3 separate regions of the Homo sapiens genome follow, and all the other regions are linked to region 1. The links are contacts of gene promoters, found by promoter capture Hi-C in blood cells and fetal thymus (Javierre and others, 2016). All regions are on one chromosome and are shown on one strand. Each heading gives the region's core, a stretch centred on a gene start or on the middle of the fragment in contact. The rest is flanking DNA. Distances are from core to core; before and after follow the strand shown. Region 1 holds the start of ITGA2B (integrin subunit alpha 2b). Region 2 overlaps HDAC5 (histone deacetylase 5). Region 3 overlaps MEIOC (meiosis specific with coiled-coil domain).

What was found. The method cuts DNA at HindIII sites, captures the fragments that hold promoters and counts their contacts. A CHiCAGO score of 5 or more calls a contact.
Region 2: a contact is called between a fragment that was not itself captured here and the fragment with the promoter of ITGA2B in region 1, in 1 of 17 cell types (erythroblasts). The highest score is 5.1, in erythroblasts.
Region 3: a contact is called between a fragment that was not itself captured here and the fragment with the promoter of ITGA2B in region 1, in 1 of 17 cell types (endothelial precursors). The highest score is 5.6, in endothelial precursors.

Annotation. Positions count from the first base shown.
Region 1 is chr17:44,387,287-44,392,452 of GRCh38, reverse strand. ITGA2B (integrin subunit alpha 2b) reads left to right here and starts at 2,804. Exons shown (of 30, transcript NM_000419.5): 1 at 2,804-3,167. The coding sequence starts at 2,980. RefSeq lists an enhancer at 2,588-2,647. The HindIII fragment of the contact is 14,706 bases long and covers 2,357-5,166 here.
Region 2 is chr17:44,094,066-44,099,231 of GRCh38, reverse strand. All of the region lies in intron 3 of HDAC5 (histone deacetylase 5), which reads left to right. Among named protein-coding and RNA genes, the nearest start is that of G6PC3, 26 kb to the right of the region's middle. RefSeq lists a silencer at 158-369 and enhancers at 717-1,011, 3,112-3,872. The HindIII fragment of the contact is 2,335 bases long and covers 1,606-3,940 here.
Region 3 is chr17:44,657,737-44,662,902 of GRCh38, reverse strand. It overlaps MEIOC (meiosis specific with coiled-coil domain), which reads right to left. Exons shown (of 8, transcript NM_001145080.3): 3 at 432-586. Among named protein-coding and RNA genes, the nearest start is that of MEIOC, 3.9 kb to the right of the region's middle. The HindIII fragment of the contact is 3,083 bases long and covers 726-3,808 here.

The DNA.
Region 1 (5,166 bases), core at 1,555-4,054:
AAAAAAAAAAAAAAAAAAAAAAAAATTGTTTTTTAGGCATAGTCTTACTCTTGCCCAGGCTGGAGTGGAGTGGCAAAATCGTAGTGCACTGTAACCTAAAACTCGTGGGCTCAAGTGATTCTCCTGCCTCGGCCTCCTCAGTAGCTGGAACTACAGGTGTGCACTACCGTGCCTGGCTAATTTTAATTTTTTTGTAGAGACAGGGTCTCACTATGTTGCCCAGGCTGGTCCCAAACACCTGGCTTCAAGCAATCCTCATCTTGGCCTCCCAAAGTGCTAGGGTTACAGGCATGAGCCACCAAACCTGGTGTAAAAAATCTTTATAATTTTATTTTTCTTTTCTTTCTTTCTTTTTTTCTTTTTTGATGGAGTCTCACTCTGTCGCCCAGGCTGGAGTGCAGTGGCATGATCTTAGCTCACTGCCACCTCCGCCTCACAGGTTCAAGCAATTCTTTTGCCTCAGCCTCCCAAGTAGCTGGGATTACAGACACACACCACCACGCCCAGCTAATTTTTGTATTTTTAGTAGAGACGGGGTTTCACTAGGTTGGCCAGGCTGGTCTCAAACTCCTGACCTTGTGGTCCACTCGCCTGGGCCTCCCAAAGTGCTGGGATTACAGGCATGAGCCACCATGCCCGGCTAAAATCTTTATGATTTTCCATCCCCCATGGATTAAAGTTCAGATTCCTTAATATGGCATTCAAGGACCTCCAGTAATTTGAATCCCCAAGCTTTACCCCCTTGCGCCTCAGTCCAACCCTTTAAGCATTCTGCTATGCTGAGTCAACTACTTGTCCTTCCCTACCTCTGTGTTCCTTTGCTGCTCTCATGTATTCTCTATGCCTAAAAACCCTTTCATTCTCTGACAAAAGGCAACTTGAACATGAGTTCAAGTGCAACCCATGTTTGAATCTTAGTTTTGCCATCTGTTGGCTGCGTAAACATGGGCAATTTACCTAAAACTCTTGTGCCACAGTTTTGTGTTTATAAAATGGGCATAATAGTACTTATTTCCTAGGGTTGTTATGAGTAACAATGATATACGACTTTGATAATCTGTGTATTTTTCAAGGCATGCTTGACTGTCTCTCTGCTGCAGTTATGTGTGTTCATGTCTTAACTCTTTCTGGGCTGTTTGTTAAGTCTCCTTGATGGCTATCTTTGGAGTTTTTAAAATATTTTATTTTTTATAATTTTAAAATAGAGACGAGGTCTCACTGTATTGCCTAGGCTGGTCTTAAATGCCTGAGCTCAAGCCATCCTCCTGCCTCAGCCTCCCAAAGTGCTGGGATTACAGGCATGAGCCACTATACCTGGCCTAATGGTTATCTTTGTATCCTTTATCAACACAGTGCCTTGAACAGAGTAAATACTTATTGAAAACTTGAGTGAAATGTAAGTTCATATTTGGCCTCACAGAATACACCAGTAATACAGCAATCACTCACCTGAGGACAGTGGGAGGATAGAAGGTAAGTAGAGGACTGGGTTAAGTATTCGTTCAAGCAAATACATTAATTACACGCCTCCCATGTACTTGACACTGGGAACTCAGCAATGAAGAAGGCCCAGACCAAAGTTCAGGCTTTTAGCTTCCTGTCCTATAAAGGATAAGATTCTTAACTCTAGGCTGAGGTAGTAAATTACGAGGGGACTTCAAAATGGTACAGGGTGGTTGAGCAGGATACGGCAATGGTTAAGTTTGATCAGAAAATAGAAATCAAAAGGAAAATGTGGCTATGGTTACCCCTAGCGGACCTCTTAAATCTTCCTGAGAACCTGCTTTTTTGGGAAGGCATGAGTGCCAGTAAGACTTGGCACTCCTCCTCTTCCGCTTACCGAGAGAAAATGACTTTGCCTTTCTGCTCAAAACTCATCCCTTCACTTTGTCACCCTATGTTTGCATCTTCCATCCTTAGTGTGTGTTTCCATCCAGTCTTTCAGCAATACACGTACTACACATTGGACTCTTGGGTAGTCTCTAGGGCTGTAGCAAGGAGCCTTGCTCCCAAGGGACTCATTTACACAATCCTGTGAACGGACCAAGAGTAAACAGTGTGCTCAATGCTGTGCCTACGTGTGTTAGCCCACGCGGCCAGCCTGAGGAGTCAGGGAAGGCTCCCCTAGGCAAAGCCCCCAACCAGAATCAAGTCTTAATGGTTAAAGAGCTCCATCACCCAAAAAGGATTGAGGGCCTACCTTCAACTGAACAGCTAATGCATAATCTCAGAAACTGTGAGTCAAAATTCCCTGGAATAACTCCACTTTATCCCCAATCTCCTTGCCACCTAGACCAAGGTCCATTCACCACCCTGTCCCCAGCACTGACTGCACTGCTGTGGCCACACTAAAGCTTGGCTCAAGACGGAGGAGGAGTGAGGAAGCTGCTGCACCAATATGGCTGGTTGAGGCCGCCCAAGGTCCTAGAAGGAGGAAGTGGGTAAATGCCATATCCAAAAAGATACAGAAGCCTCAGGTTTTATCGGGGGCAGCAGCTTCCTTCTCCTTCCCCGACCTGTGGCCAAGTCACAAAGCACCACAGCTGTACAGCCAGATGGGGGAAGGGAGGAGATTAGAACTGTAGGCTAGAGTAGACAAGTATGGACCAGTTCACAATCACGCTATCCCAAGCAGAAAGTGATGGTGGCTTGGACTAGCACGGTGGTAGTAGAGATGGGGTAAAGATTCAAGAGACATCATTGATAGGCAGAACCAATAGGACATGGTAATAAACTATTCTCAGGAAAGGGGAGGAGTCATGGCTTTCAGCCATGAGCATCCACCCTCTGGGTGGCCTCACCCACTTCCTGGCAATTCTAGCCACCATGAGTCCAGGGGCTATAGCCCTTTGCTCTGCCCGTTGCTCAGCAAGTTACTTGGGGTTCCAGTTTGATAAGAAAAGACTTCCTGTGGAGGAATCTGAAGGGAAGGAGGAGGAGCTGGCCCATTCCTGCCTGGGAGGTTGTGGAAGAAGGAAGATGGCCAGAGCTTTGTGTCCACTGCAAGCCCTCTGGCTTCTGGAGTGGGTGCTGCTGCTCTTGGGACCTTGTGCTGCCCCTCCAGCCTGGGCCTTGAACCTGGACCCAGTGCAGCTCACCTTCTATGCAGGCCCCAATGGCAGCCAGTTTGGATTTTCACTGGACTTCCACAAGGACAGCCATGGGAGGTGAGCCGTAAGGGAAGTTGGGGTATTGGGAGAGAGCAGGACCCCTCCCCATCACTGCTTCTGGGGGCTTCGAGTTTCCCATTTGCGATAGCAGTTGAGCAAGGTGACTTGTGGGGCCTATTCAGGTTGATTTCTTGTCAAGAATGTTGGGGTCCAGGGGACTGGCTCAGGTGAAGGTATAAGGGCAGGGCACATGTGGGCTGATGGGCACTGAAAACTACAGCAAGAACAAAGGGAAGACAAGAGTTGATGCTTTATTTTTTCCCCAAGGGTCAGTTGTATGAACCACTCCACCCTCAACACCTTGAAATGCAGAGAGGAGGCCGGGCGCGGTGGCTCATGCCTGTAATCCCAGCACTTTGGGAGGCCGAGGCGGGCAGATCACCTGAGGTCGAGAATTCGAGACCAGCCTGACCAACATGGAGAAACCCCGTCTCTACTAAAAATACAAAAAAAAAAAAAAAAAAGAGACCAGGCACAGTGGCTCACACCTGCAATCCCAGCACTTTGGGAGGCAGAGGTGGGCAGATCATGAGGTCAGGAGTTCAAGACCAGCCTGGCCAATATGGTGAAACCCTGTCTCTATTAAAAATACAAAAATTAGCTGAGCGTGGTGGCACACTCCTGTAGTCCCAGCTACTCGGGAGGCTGAGGTAGGAGAATCACTTGAACCCGGGAGGTGGAGGTTGCAGTGAGCTGAGATCATGCCACTGCACTCCAGCCTGGGTGACAGAGTGACACTCCGTCTCAAAAAAAAAAAAATTAGCCGGGCGTGGTGCCGCATGCTTGTAATCCCAGCTACTCGGGAGGCTGAGGCAGGAGAATCGTTTGAACCTGAGAGGCAGAGGTTGTGGTGAGCCGAGATCATGCCATTGCACTCCAGCCTGGGCAACGAGAGCGAAACTCTGTCTCAAAAAAAAAAAAAAAAAAAAAAGAAAGGAAATGTGGAGAGGAGCACATGTCCTAAATTGATTTGCAGAACTAAAGTTGTCTACCCTCCCGCACCTTGCATTTCTGTTCCATTTCCCTCATCTCCATCAACATTATAAATATTTGAAAAGAAGCAATAGGTCATTAATGATTAGTATTGATCAGGCTTCAGAATCAAGAGTGCCAAGATTAGAGTCTTGGCTCCTCCTCTTCATAGCGTGTACCCTGAGCTACTATTGTGAGAGACACTGTGCCCACCAGCTTCAGGGAGTGGCAATGGGTGGCAATGGCAGATAGCCTTCAAGTGTCAGCCACTTAGGGGATTTCCTCTGCTGAAGAGAGCCAGTTCACTCCAAGTCCCCTCCCAAGATGGCCCACATCCAGTGTCTGATCAATGAGAAGTGGGTGAGTGGGGAGAGTGGAGGCAGGTGTGGGGGAGGCATTTGATAAGGGTCCAGCCCTCTTTCATCAACTCTGACAATTCTTTTTTTCTTCTTCTTCTTTTTTTTTTTTTTTTTTTTTTTTTTTTGAGATGGGGTTTCGCTCTTGTTGCCCAGGCTGGAGTGCAATGGCACAATCACTGGCTCACCGCAACTTCTGCCTCCCGGGTTCAAGCGATTCTCCTGCCACAGCCTCCCGCGTAGCTGGGATTACAGGCATGTGCCACCACACCCGGCTAATTTTGTATTTTTAGTAGAGACGAGGTTTCTCCATGTTGGTCAGGGTGGTCTCGAACTCCCAACTTCAGGTGATCCACCCGCCTTGGCCTCCCAAAGTGCTGGGATTACAGGCTTCAGCCACCATGCCCAGACTTTTTTTCTTCTTTTTTTTTGAGATGGAGTTTCGCTCTCGTTGCCCAGGCTGGAGTGCAATGGGGTGATCTCGGCTCACTGCAACCTCTGCCTCCTGGGTTCAAACGATTCTCCTGTCTCAGCCTCCCGAGTAGCTGGGATTACAGGTGCATGCCACCATGCCCGGCTAATTTTTGTATTTTTAGTAGAGACAGGGTTTCACTATGTTGGCCAGGCTGGTCTCAAACTCCTGACCTCAGGTGATCAGCCTGCCTCGG
Region 2 (5,166 bases), core at 1,524-4,023, 290 kb after region 1:
TGGCCTCTCGATTCCCATCAGAGTGAAGTCCTGGCAGGTGAGGGAAGGACCCAGGTCCTTGTCCTCCCCTGTGAACCTTTCCCTGGCTTTCTTTTCTTTTCATTTTTTTCTTTTTGAGACAGAGTTTCACTCTTGTTGCCCAGGCTGGAGTGCAATGTCGCGATCTTGGCTCACTGCAACCTCTGCCTCCCGGGTTCAAGTGATTTTCCTGCCTCAGCCTCCCGAGTAGCTGGGATTACAGGCATGCATCACCACACCCGGCTAATTTTGTAATTTTAGTAAAGATGGGGTTTTTCCATGTTGGCCAGGCTGGTCTTGAACTCCTGACCTCAAGTGATCCTCCCGCCTCGGACTCCCAAAATGCTGGGATTATAGCCACCAACGCTTGGCTCTCCCTGGCCTTTCAGTGGGGCTCTTTGCTAGCCAGAGCTCTTGGCCTGTCCTCTTAGGGAACAGTGCCCCTTCGTCTACCCTCTTTTTTTTTTTTTTTTTAGATAGGGTCTCGCTCTATCACCCAGGCTAGAGTGCAGTGGCATGATCTGGGCTCATTGCAACCTCTGCCTCCTGGGTTCAAACAACTCTCCCTGCCTCAGCCTCCTGAGTAGCTGGGATTACAAGTGCCCGCTACCGCACCCAACTAATCTTTGTATTTTTTAGTAGAGATGGGGTTTTGCCATGTTGGCCAGGCTGGTCTTGAACTCCTGACCTCAGGTGATCCGCCCGCCTCAGCCTCCCAAACTGCTGGGATTACAGGCATGAGCCACTGCGCCTGGCCCAGGTTCCCTTTTTTTTAAGAGACAGCCCTGGGTAACTGGCCACCACGCCCCGGGCCTGTCTATCCTCTTCTTTTCCCAGAGGTTCCCCAGCCTTCCTAGTCCACCAGGAGGCGGCCAAGAGCCTCTTCCTATCATGACACAACCACTTCCCCTTCCAGGTGCTTGGTGCTGATGGCAACTGCTGCCACCTGCTCTGCTCATGCCAGGCTGGCAGAGGGCACAGATCCTTGAGAGAGTGCAAGGCCCGCCAGGCTCCAGGGTCTGTGCCTGGGCAGACTCTATTCATGGGGCTCCATGCCCCTCCTTTCCCTGACTCAGGCAGAGTAGCCATGGCCCCTTCCACTTTGGGTGGAGCAGGTTGCTACCTGGCAAACCCCTGGGGTGCTGCATGTCACCCAGTCCCTGCAGGTCCTGCAAATTAATATTCTGGAGTCGCCTGTGCTTCCTGTTTGCATGGGAACGAGGCTGCATGGCAGAGCCCTCTGCCTGCCCTGCCACCTGCATACCAATAGGGCTGTGGTTCCCGCTGCAGCTCCGGGCCTAACATCTCTGCTGCTGCAGTGGCAGTGACAGGCTGGTGGGAGATTCCCCTTGCCTGAGCCCATGTGCTCTCTGCAGGGCTCCTGCAAGGGAAGCCAGTACTGCTGGCGACAGTTCCAGCCCTAGGCAGGGTTATCTGCTGGGAGCCAGGAGTGCTTGGACCTCTGCCCTTCCCTGGGCAGGCAGGCTGGAATCTGGCTCCTACAACCCCGGCATTGCCGGGAGCAGCAGGTTGACGGCTGTCCATTGCTTGGCTGAGTGATCAGAGTGCCACGGGCCAAGCCAAGCTTGACTAAGAACAGATAACCCTCCGGCCAGCTCAGGGCCTTGCTGAGCACTTCACGGGCTGGGGAGACCTGAGCTGGCTGCCATTTCCTTGCCACCATCGTGGGCTGTGGCTAGTTACCTCCAGGAAGGCCTTCTGCAGTTTCCAAGGACCCTTTCTCCTGGTGCTGGGGCAGGACATGGGTTGGGAATGAAGATGAGTATGTGTAACCCCACCCTCTGGCCACATCTGGCCACTTCTGCACATGTGGCTCTGGCCTTGTGGCCACAGAGTCGTCAGTATGGCTGGCGGGAAAACCACAGAGGAATGTTCCCAACCATGCCTGGGGGAGAAGAGGCTGGTGGGGACTGCTACATCATGCTGAGCTTTTACCTTCTCCCACCCCACCCTGCCTGCAGGGGGTTCCAGAGGCCATACTCCAGGCATGTGGGTGGCATGGCCTTGGCCTCGGCCTCCAGCAGGCCTTGCTCCTGCCTTGGTGACACCCATTCAGTGCTAGGTTCTCTGGAGAGATCCAGACCCATCTAAACAGGTGTGGGGGCCTCTCTTAGCCCACCCTTTGCCACCTCCTACCTCCCACCTCCCTCTCTTCTCTTTAAAAATTGTTCGGCTGGGTGTGGTCACTCATGCCTGTAATCCCAGCACTTTGGGAGGCCGAGGCGGGTGGATCACCTGAGGTCAGGAGTTCGAGACCAGCCTGACCTACATGGTGAAACCCCGTTTCTACTAAAAATACAAAAATTAGCTAGGCCTGGTGGTGGGCGCCTGTAATCCCAGCTGCTTGGGAGGCTGAGGCAGGAGAATTGCTTGAACCCAGGAGGCGGAGGTTGCAGTGAGACTCCATCTAAAAAAAAGGCCAGGGGCAGTGGCTCATGCCTGTAATCCCAGCCCTTTGGGAGGCCGAGGCGAGCGGATCACCTGAGGTCAAGAGTTTGAGACCAGCCTGGCCAACATGGTGAAACCTTGTGTCTACTAAAAATACAAAAAAATTAGCTGAGCGTGGTGGCGGGTGCCTGTAATCCCAGCTACTTGCGGGGCTGAGGCAGGAAAACTGCTTGAACCCAGGAGGCAGAGGTTGCAGTGAGCCGAGATTGTGCCACTGCACTCCAGCCTGGATGACAAGAGCAAAACTCCATCTCCAAAAAAAAAAAAAACAAAAAAAAACCAAAACTTGTTTTTTGTTTTTTTTTTCCCTCTCTCGCCTCTTAATGCTGGGGGGTGGTCTGGAGAGAGGCCAGCTCATGAAGGCAGAAGATACTGGTAGCCAGAAGGATTTCGGGGTCCTTTTTTCTCAGGCCTGGGCTGGAGTGGGCCACTTTGCCACAGGAGTCTTCCCAGCCCCTCGTGACCTCCCTGGGCTGTAGCGAGGAGAGTGAGGGCTTTCTTTGGAGAAAGAAGTAGAAGAGAAACAGGAATGGGTTGGCCTGCCTCTCTCACTTCCGCCTTCCCAGGCAGTGGTATCCTGCCTTCCCCTTCCTGGCTGGAGACTTTGTGGGGCTTGGGCTGGGCTTGGGGCTCCCTGCTGGTGTGGTGTTTGCCCAGTTGTCCTGGCAACCACAGGGCAGTGGTGAGGAGTGACATGCAGTGACCTGAGAACTGTGTGTAGGTACAAAGAAGTGGAGACCTAGCCCTCCCATAAGCCCATTGGAACTTCGTGCACTCCCTGAGCCACTCGGCCCATTGTCCATGTGGGGACTGGACCCAAGGTCTTGGAACCCAGCAGGCCCTCCACTGCCTTCCCCTCCCCAGCAGCCTTCCTCTCCCCAGCCGGTTCTCCGTAAGACCAGAGTTCTGAGATCTCTGCCGAAGCTCCTGCCCTCCCCCTGCTGTTACCCTTCTTCCTGTCTGATTCCCTTTCCTTTCCTGTCTCCTCCTCCCACCTCCTCCCTGCTGCCTGCCCGCCCATCCTCTTATTCCCCCTCCCCCCAGGCACAGCTGCTGTTTGGCTCACTCTATATATAGCGGCATTTTCAGGGTAATTACAATAAAACTGTTGAAAGGAGATAATCCAGCAAAGGAAGCGAGTCTTGACTCCCAGCCCCCTCCTGTCCCTGGCTTGGTGCAGCCCTGCACCCCCTTTCCCCGAGGCCTCCTGTTCCCACCCCACCCCCATTCCCACAGCCTCTCCCTCCTGCCCAGTCTGCCCCAGATAGGGATGAGGCCCCAGAAGGGGACAGAGGGTAGAGATATCCAGAAGGTCTCCACCAGCCTCTCCTGGGGTTACCAAGGGCACTGTCAGTCCTAGAACCAACCTCTGTGCCTCAGTTTCTCTTCTAGTATGAGGCTTTGCATGGGGCACGGTGTTGAGAAATGGGAGCGGGCACAGTGGTTAAAAGCTTAGGATTTGGACTCATATTCTAGTTATTGGATCACCTAGCTGTGTCTGGTTGCTACTTAAACTTCTCTAAACCTCAGTTTCCTCATCAGTAAAATGGGGTAATAATAGCATCTAAGTCATAGGGTAACTGTGATATTTAAATGAGTCATTGTAAAATGCCCAGAGATGTTGACTATCAATGATAATATTATGTGTTGAAGGCTGGGCAGTGGCTCACGCCTATAATCCCAGCACTTTGGGAGGCTGAGGTGGGAGGATCGCTTGAGCCTAGGAGTTTAATTCAGCCTGGGCAACATAGTGAGACCCTGTCTCTACTAAAAAATTAAAAATTAGCCTGGTGCATTGGCATGCTCCTGTAATCCCTGCTACTTGGGAAGCTGAGGTGGGAGGGTTGCTTGAGGTCGAGGCTGTCATGAGCCACGATCATGCCATTGCATTCCAGCCTGGGCGACAGAGCAAGACCTTGTCTCTGATATATATATAGGTAGAGAGATAAATACACACACATATGTATGTGTGTGTGTATATATATATATACACACACATACGTACACACATATATATACACACACACACACAGATACATAAAATGCGTCGAGTAGTCACAATCTGTCAGGTACAGCTTCATGCTTATGCACATTTTCTTTATTTTTTTGAGATGGAGGCTCGCTCTGTCGCCCAGGCTGGAGTGCAGTGGTGCGATCTTGGCTCACTGCAACCTCCACCTCCAGGGTTCAAGCGATTCTCCTGCCTCAGCCTCCTGAGTAGCTGGGACTACAGGCGTGTGCCACCACGCCCAGCTAATTTTTTTTGTTTTTAGTAGAGACAGGATTTCACCATGTTAGTCAGGATGGTCTTGATCTCCTGACCTCGTGATCTACCCGCCTCAGCCTCCCAAAGTGCTGGGATTACAGGCAAGAGCCACCGCGCCCGGCCTCCCCCTTTTTGTTTTTTGTTTTTTTTTTTTCTGGAGACAGTCTTGCTCTGTCACCCAGGCTAGAGTGCAGTTGCATGATCTTGGCTCACTGCAACCTCCGCCTCCCGGGGTTCAAGAGATTCCCATGCCTCAGCCATCTGAGTGGCTGGGATTACAGGTGTGCACCATCACGCCCAAATAATTTTTGTATTTTTAGTAGTGAGGGGGTTTCATCATGTTGACCAGGCTGGTCTCAAACTCCTGGCCTCAGGTGATCTGCCTGCCTCAGCCTCCCAAACTAACCTGAGAT
Region 3 (5,166 bases), core at 1,018-3,517, 270 kb before region 1:
TTGAGGCCAGGAGTTCAAGACCAGCCTAGGCAACAAAGTGAGACCTCGTTTCTTAAAAAGAAAAGGCAACAAATTTTTTTAAAGTTAGCTGACCACCGTGGTGCATACCTGTAGTCCCAGCTACTGTGGAGGCTGAGGCAGGAGTATGGCTTGAGCCCAGGAGTTCAAAGTTGTAGTGAGCCATGATCTCGCCACTGCACTCCAGACTGGGTGACAGAGCGAGACCCTGTCTCAACAAAACAAAACAAAGCAAAACACCGTAAAAACTATACACAAATAACTGCCCAGTTTACACTTTCCTAAAAGTTTGAAAAACACAAAATGCCACAATAGTAAAATGATAATGTAGGGAACAGAGAGCAAATAACCTCAGTTCCTATGTAATTAAATTTAAAAATACCTCAATTACCTTGAGAAATGAATTAATTTACCTGTTCTTTATACTGATCTGAGAATTAGAAGGTTGTTTAATGTCATCTCCATAAGTAGACCATGGTGCACAGAAAAGTGAAGAATCTACAGAACTTGAATATTCTGTTGAAGAAAATGGAGTATAGGTCTGCCTTAGGTCTACATTGTCTTCACTCTGAAAGTTTTAAGAAATGTTTATCAGACACATCAAAACTTCATTTGTTGTAGAATATGAGAAAAATAAGAAAGCGGAAATAACACAGATGTAAGAGTTGGGAGAATTACATTCAAATGCAGACTTAGTGACTTAAGCTTGCTTTATACCAGGGATTGGCAAACTTGTTCTGCAAAAGGCCAAATAGTAAATATTTTAGGCTTAGCTGGCCATTAAGGTTGCTGTCAAAACTCTTCAACTCTAATGCTGCAGCACTAAATCAACCATAGACAATAAACAAATGGGTTTGGCTGCATTGCAATAAAACTTTATTTACAAAACAGGTATCGGGCAGCTCTGGCTCCTTGTTGCTGGTCTGTGGTATAAAATACCTATAATTATTGTAGTTTTTTTGTAATTTTTTGAATAGATAAGCATTATGTGGATACTAGCAATGTTATTTTTAATACATTATATATAAAATTCAGTCTTGGGGCCAGGCGCGGTGGCTCAAGCCTGTAATCCCAGCACTTTGGGAGGCCGAGGTGGGCGGATCACGAGGTCAGGAGATGAGACCATCCTGGCTAAACCCTGTCTCTACTAAAAATACAAAAAATTAGCCAGCTGTGGTGGTGATGGGCGCCTGTAGTCCCAGCTACTTGGGAGGCTGAGGCAGGAGAATGGCATGAACCCGGGAGGCGGAGCTTGCAGTGAGCCAAGATAGCACCACTGTACTCCATCCTGGGCGACAGAGCGAGACTCTGTCTCAAAAATAAATAAATAAATTTCAGTCTTAATGTCCCCAATCTCTGAAAAAAGTTAATGTATATTTATATGGAATTTTACACTATTCAAATAAATTTCACATATATTATCATATCCAGTAAACCTTGTGACATGAGTATTATCTCTACTTTAAAAACAAGGAAACTGAGGCTGCAAGTCACTCAGCCAATATGTAACAAATCTAAAACCAAAACTGAAGGTCTTTTTCCTCCTATTTGAGGACATTTTATACAGTATCTTTTTTTTTTTTTTTTTTTTTTTTTGAGACAAGAGTCTGGCTCTGTTGCCCAGACTGGAGTAGAGTGGCGAGATCTCGGCTCACTGCAACCTCTGCCTCCCGGGTTGAAGCGATTCTCCTGCCTTAGCCTCCCAAGTAACTGGGATTACAGGCACCTGCCACCATGCCTGGCTAATTTTTGTATTTTCAGTAGAGAGTTTTAGGGTTTCACCATGTTGGTCAGGCTGGTCTCAAATCCTGACCTCAAGTGATCTGCCCGCCTTGGGCCTTCCAAAGTGTTGGGATTACAGGCGTGAGCCATTGCACCCAGCCTCGGTGAATGCTTCTGTAATGAACCTGAGTAAACAAAAACTTTGGGTGTTAAGTTTCTTTTTTTTTTTTTAAATAGAAATGGGGTCTCACTGTGTTGCCCAGGCTGGTCTTAAACTCCTGGCCTCAAGCGATCCTCCTGCCTTGGCCTCCCAAAGTGCTGGGATTACAGGTGTGAGTCACTTTGCCGGGCCTTGGGTTTTAAGATTTTAATGATTTAAACCCTGCCTCCTTCCAAAAGGGACCATGTAGGGAAAGTGAATTTAACAAACAAAAAAAGATTAAGCTAATTTATACATTGTTTATTCTAGAAAATGCTTCCTTAAAGAAGACTGAAAGTATAAATTCAAAATTTTTAACTCTCCAGATAAGTAACTATTAAAACCTGAGATGCAATAACTATAAATACCCAGACATAAACACAATGAAAATAGTATTTTCTTATAAATACAGAAGAGATGTAATTCTGGCCGGGCGCAGTGGCTCACACCTGTAATCCCAGCACTTTTGGGAGGCCTAGGTGGGCGGATCACCTGAGGTCAGGAGTTTAACTCCTGATCAACATGGCGAAAGCCCGTTTCGACAAAAATACAAAAATTAGCCAGGTGTGGTGGCAGGTGCCTGCAATCCCAGCTACTCAAGAGGCTGAGGCAGGAGAGTCACTTGAACCCAGAAGGCGGAGGTTGCAGTGAGCCAAGATTGAGCTATTGCACTCCAGCCTGGGCAACAGAGGGAGACTCCATCTCAAAATAAATAAATAAATAAATAAAATAAAATAAAATAAAAAAGGAAAAGATATAATTCTGGCTAAAAGTATTTTCTAATTGCTTTTATTCTGTTAATATTTCTAAATTTTTGTTCCTAATAGATATGATCACTGAAAAACATTTAAACTATACAACGTTATATGATACCAACAAAATGTGAACATTAAGAAATACCTTCCAATCATCCATCTTCAAGAATCTCAAAATATTTTACAACCATTTGTTTAAGTTCTGGTTATGATTCTATTTAAAACCCACACATTATAATTTTTCTGTTTATAGTTTATATTATGACTATTCTCAAGTTGAGGAAATGGAAACACAGAAGGGATTTTGCTGAGAGCTAAAACTAAAAACTACCTTTCCAGAATTTGTTGGTTAGCAGCAACTTTTACAAAGGCTTTTTATCTTTCTTTCCTAATTTTATCCTTTGAGTTCTAAAGTTATCATCATAGGCCCACTCTTATGTGTGAAGTATCCAAAGTGACATAAATAATTGTTCATCTTTTTGAAATAGTTGCTTAAACAAAAGGAACATTTTCAGATTATGTAATGTCAAATGAATAAACAGTATTGGAAATTGAAAATATTTTGGGAGTATTCTTTCAAGTACATTTTACATTTTAAAATACATTTTGAATATTACAAATAAAATCCTTTTAAAGGACTGACTTAACTTTTGTATTCTTGGGTTAAAACAACTAAAGTAATGTGGTGGATTCAAACAATCATACTTGAAATATCTGCATCCCTTTCGTTAACAGAGGCCAGGAAATATGCAAATATTTGAGTGGGCATATTAACTGGATTAACTTTAAAATGTATCACTTATATCCTTAACATACTTAAAACAGTGAACTGAAATTAAATCCAAATAAATTTTAGTCCGGATGTAAACACTGCAGAGAGCAGTGGAACTATGGTCTGGGTTCCACTTGAGCTTTGTCATTTAGGGCACAAATCAAGCTCTCTGAGGCTCAGTTTCTCAATCTGTACAGTGGCATAATAATATACAAGATTCTTAGTGTGGATTAAATAAAATAATTTATTTCTAGATATTGTTATAATTCAAAGTACAACAATATCAACATTGATGTCCTGGTTAAATAATTTCAAATGAAAATTACTTACATTACCCAAGCTTTATTTCCTTTGATTAATAAATCTAAATGTCTTGGTGAGGTAAGTGGTAGCATATAATTTAAGACATTGTTAAAACCAGAAAATAAAGGAGTAAAGTGAAATTTTCACCTTTAAATTATCAAAAATATGTTTGTACCAACTTGCAATAAATGCCTGAACGAAAAAAAACATATTTTAATCTTACTAAATAATGGATTTTCTTACATTTCTGGAATTATGTTATGCTAAGGACAAGATGGAAACGAATCAATGAAAAATCTTATTCTTCAATTTGTTTTCTTTTTTCTTTTTTTTTTTTTTTTGAGAGGGAGTCTCACTCTGTCACCCAGGCTGGAGTGCAGTGGCATGATCTTGGCTCACTGCAACCTCCACCTCCCTGGTTTAAGATTCTCCTGCCTCAGTCTCCCAAGTAGCTGGGATTACAGGTGCCTGCCCCCACACCCGGCTGATTTTTGTATTTTTAGTAGAGATGGGGTTTCGCCATGTTGGCCAGGCTGGTCTTGAACTCCCGAACTCAGGTGATCCACCCGCCTCAGCCCCCCAGAGTGCTGGGATTACAGGCACGAGCCATGGCGCCCGGCCCTTAACTTATTTTCAAAGCAAAGTATGTATTCTGCAAACACTGTATTTAAAAGATTGTAGCCGGGCGCGGTGGCTCACGCCTGTAATCCCAGCACTTTGGGAGGCTGAGGCGAGCGGATCACGAGGTCAGGAGATCGAGACCATACTGGCTAACACAGTGAAACCCCGTATCTACTAAAAATACAAAAAAATTAGCCGGGCGTGGTGGCGGGTGCCTGTAGTCCCAGCTACTCGGGAGGCTGAGGCAGGAGAATGGCGTGAACCTGGGAGGTGGAGCTTGCAGTGAGCGGAGATTGCGTCACTGCACTCCAGCCTGGGCGACAGAGCAAGACTCCGTCTCAAAAAAAAAAAAAAAAAATTGTTCCTGGGCTGGGCGCTGTGGCCTGAAATCCTAGCACTTTGGGAGGCCGAGGCGGGAGGATGGCTGGAGCCCAGAAGTTCGAGACCAGCCTGGGGAACATGGTGAAACCCGGTCTCTAAAAACAATACAAAAATTAGCCGGGCATGATGGCAGGTGCCTGTAATCCCAGCTACTGGGGAGGCTGAGACGGAAGAACTGCTTGAACCAGGGAGACAGAGGTTGCAGTGATCCGAGATCGCACCACTGCACTCCAGCCTGGGCAACAGAAGGAGACTCCGTCTCAAAAAACAAAACAAAACGGCTGGACGCGGTGGCTCATGCCTGTAATCCCAGCACTTTGGGAGGCCGAGGTGCGCGGATCACCCGAGGTTGGGAGTTCGAGACCAGCCTGACCAACATGGAGAAACCCTGTCTC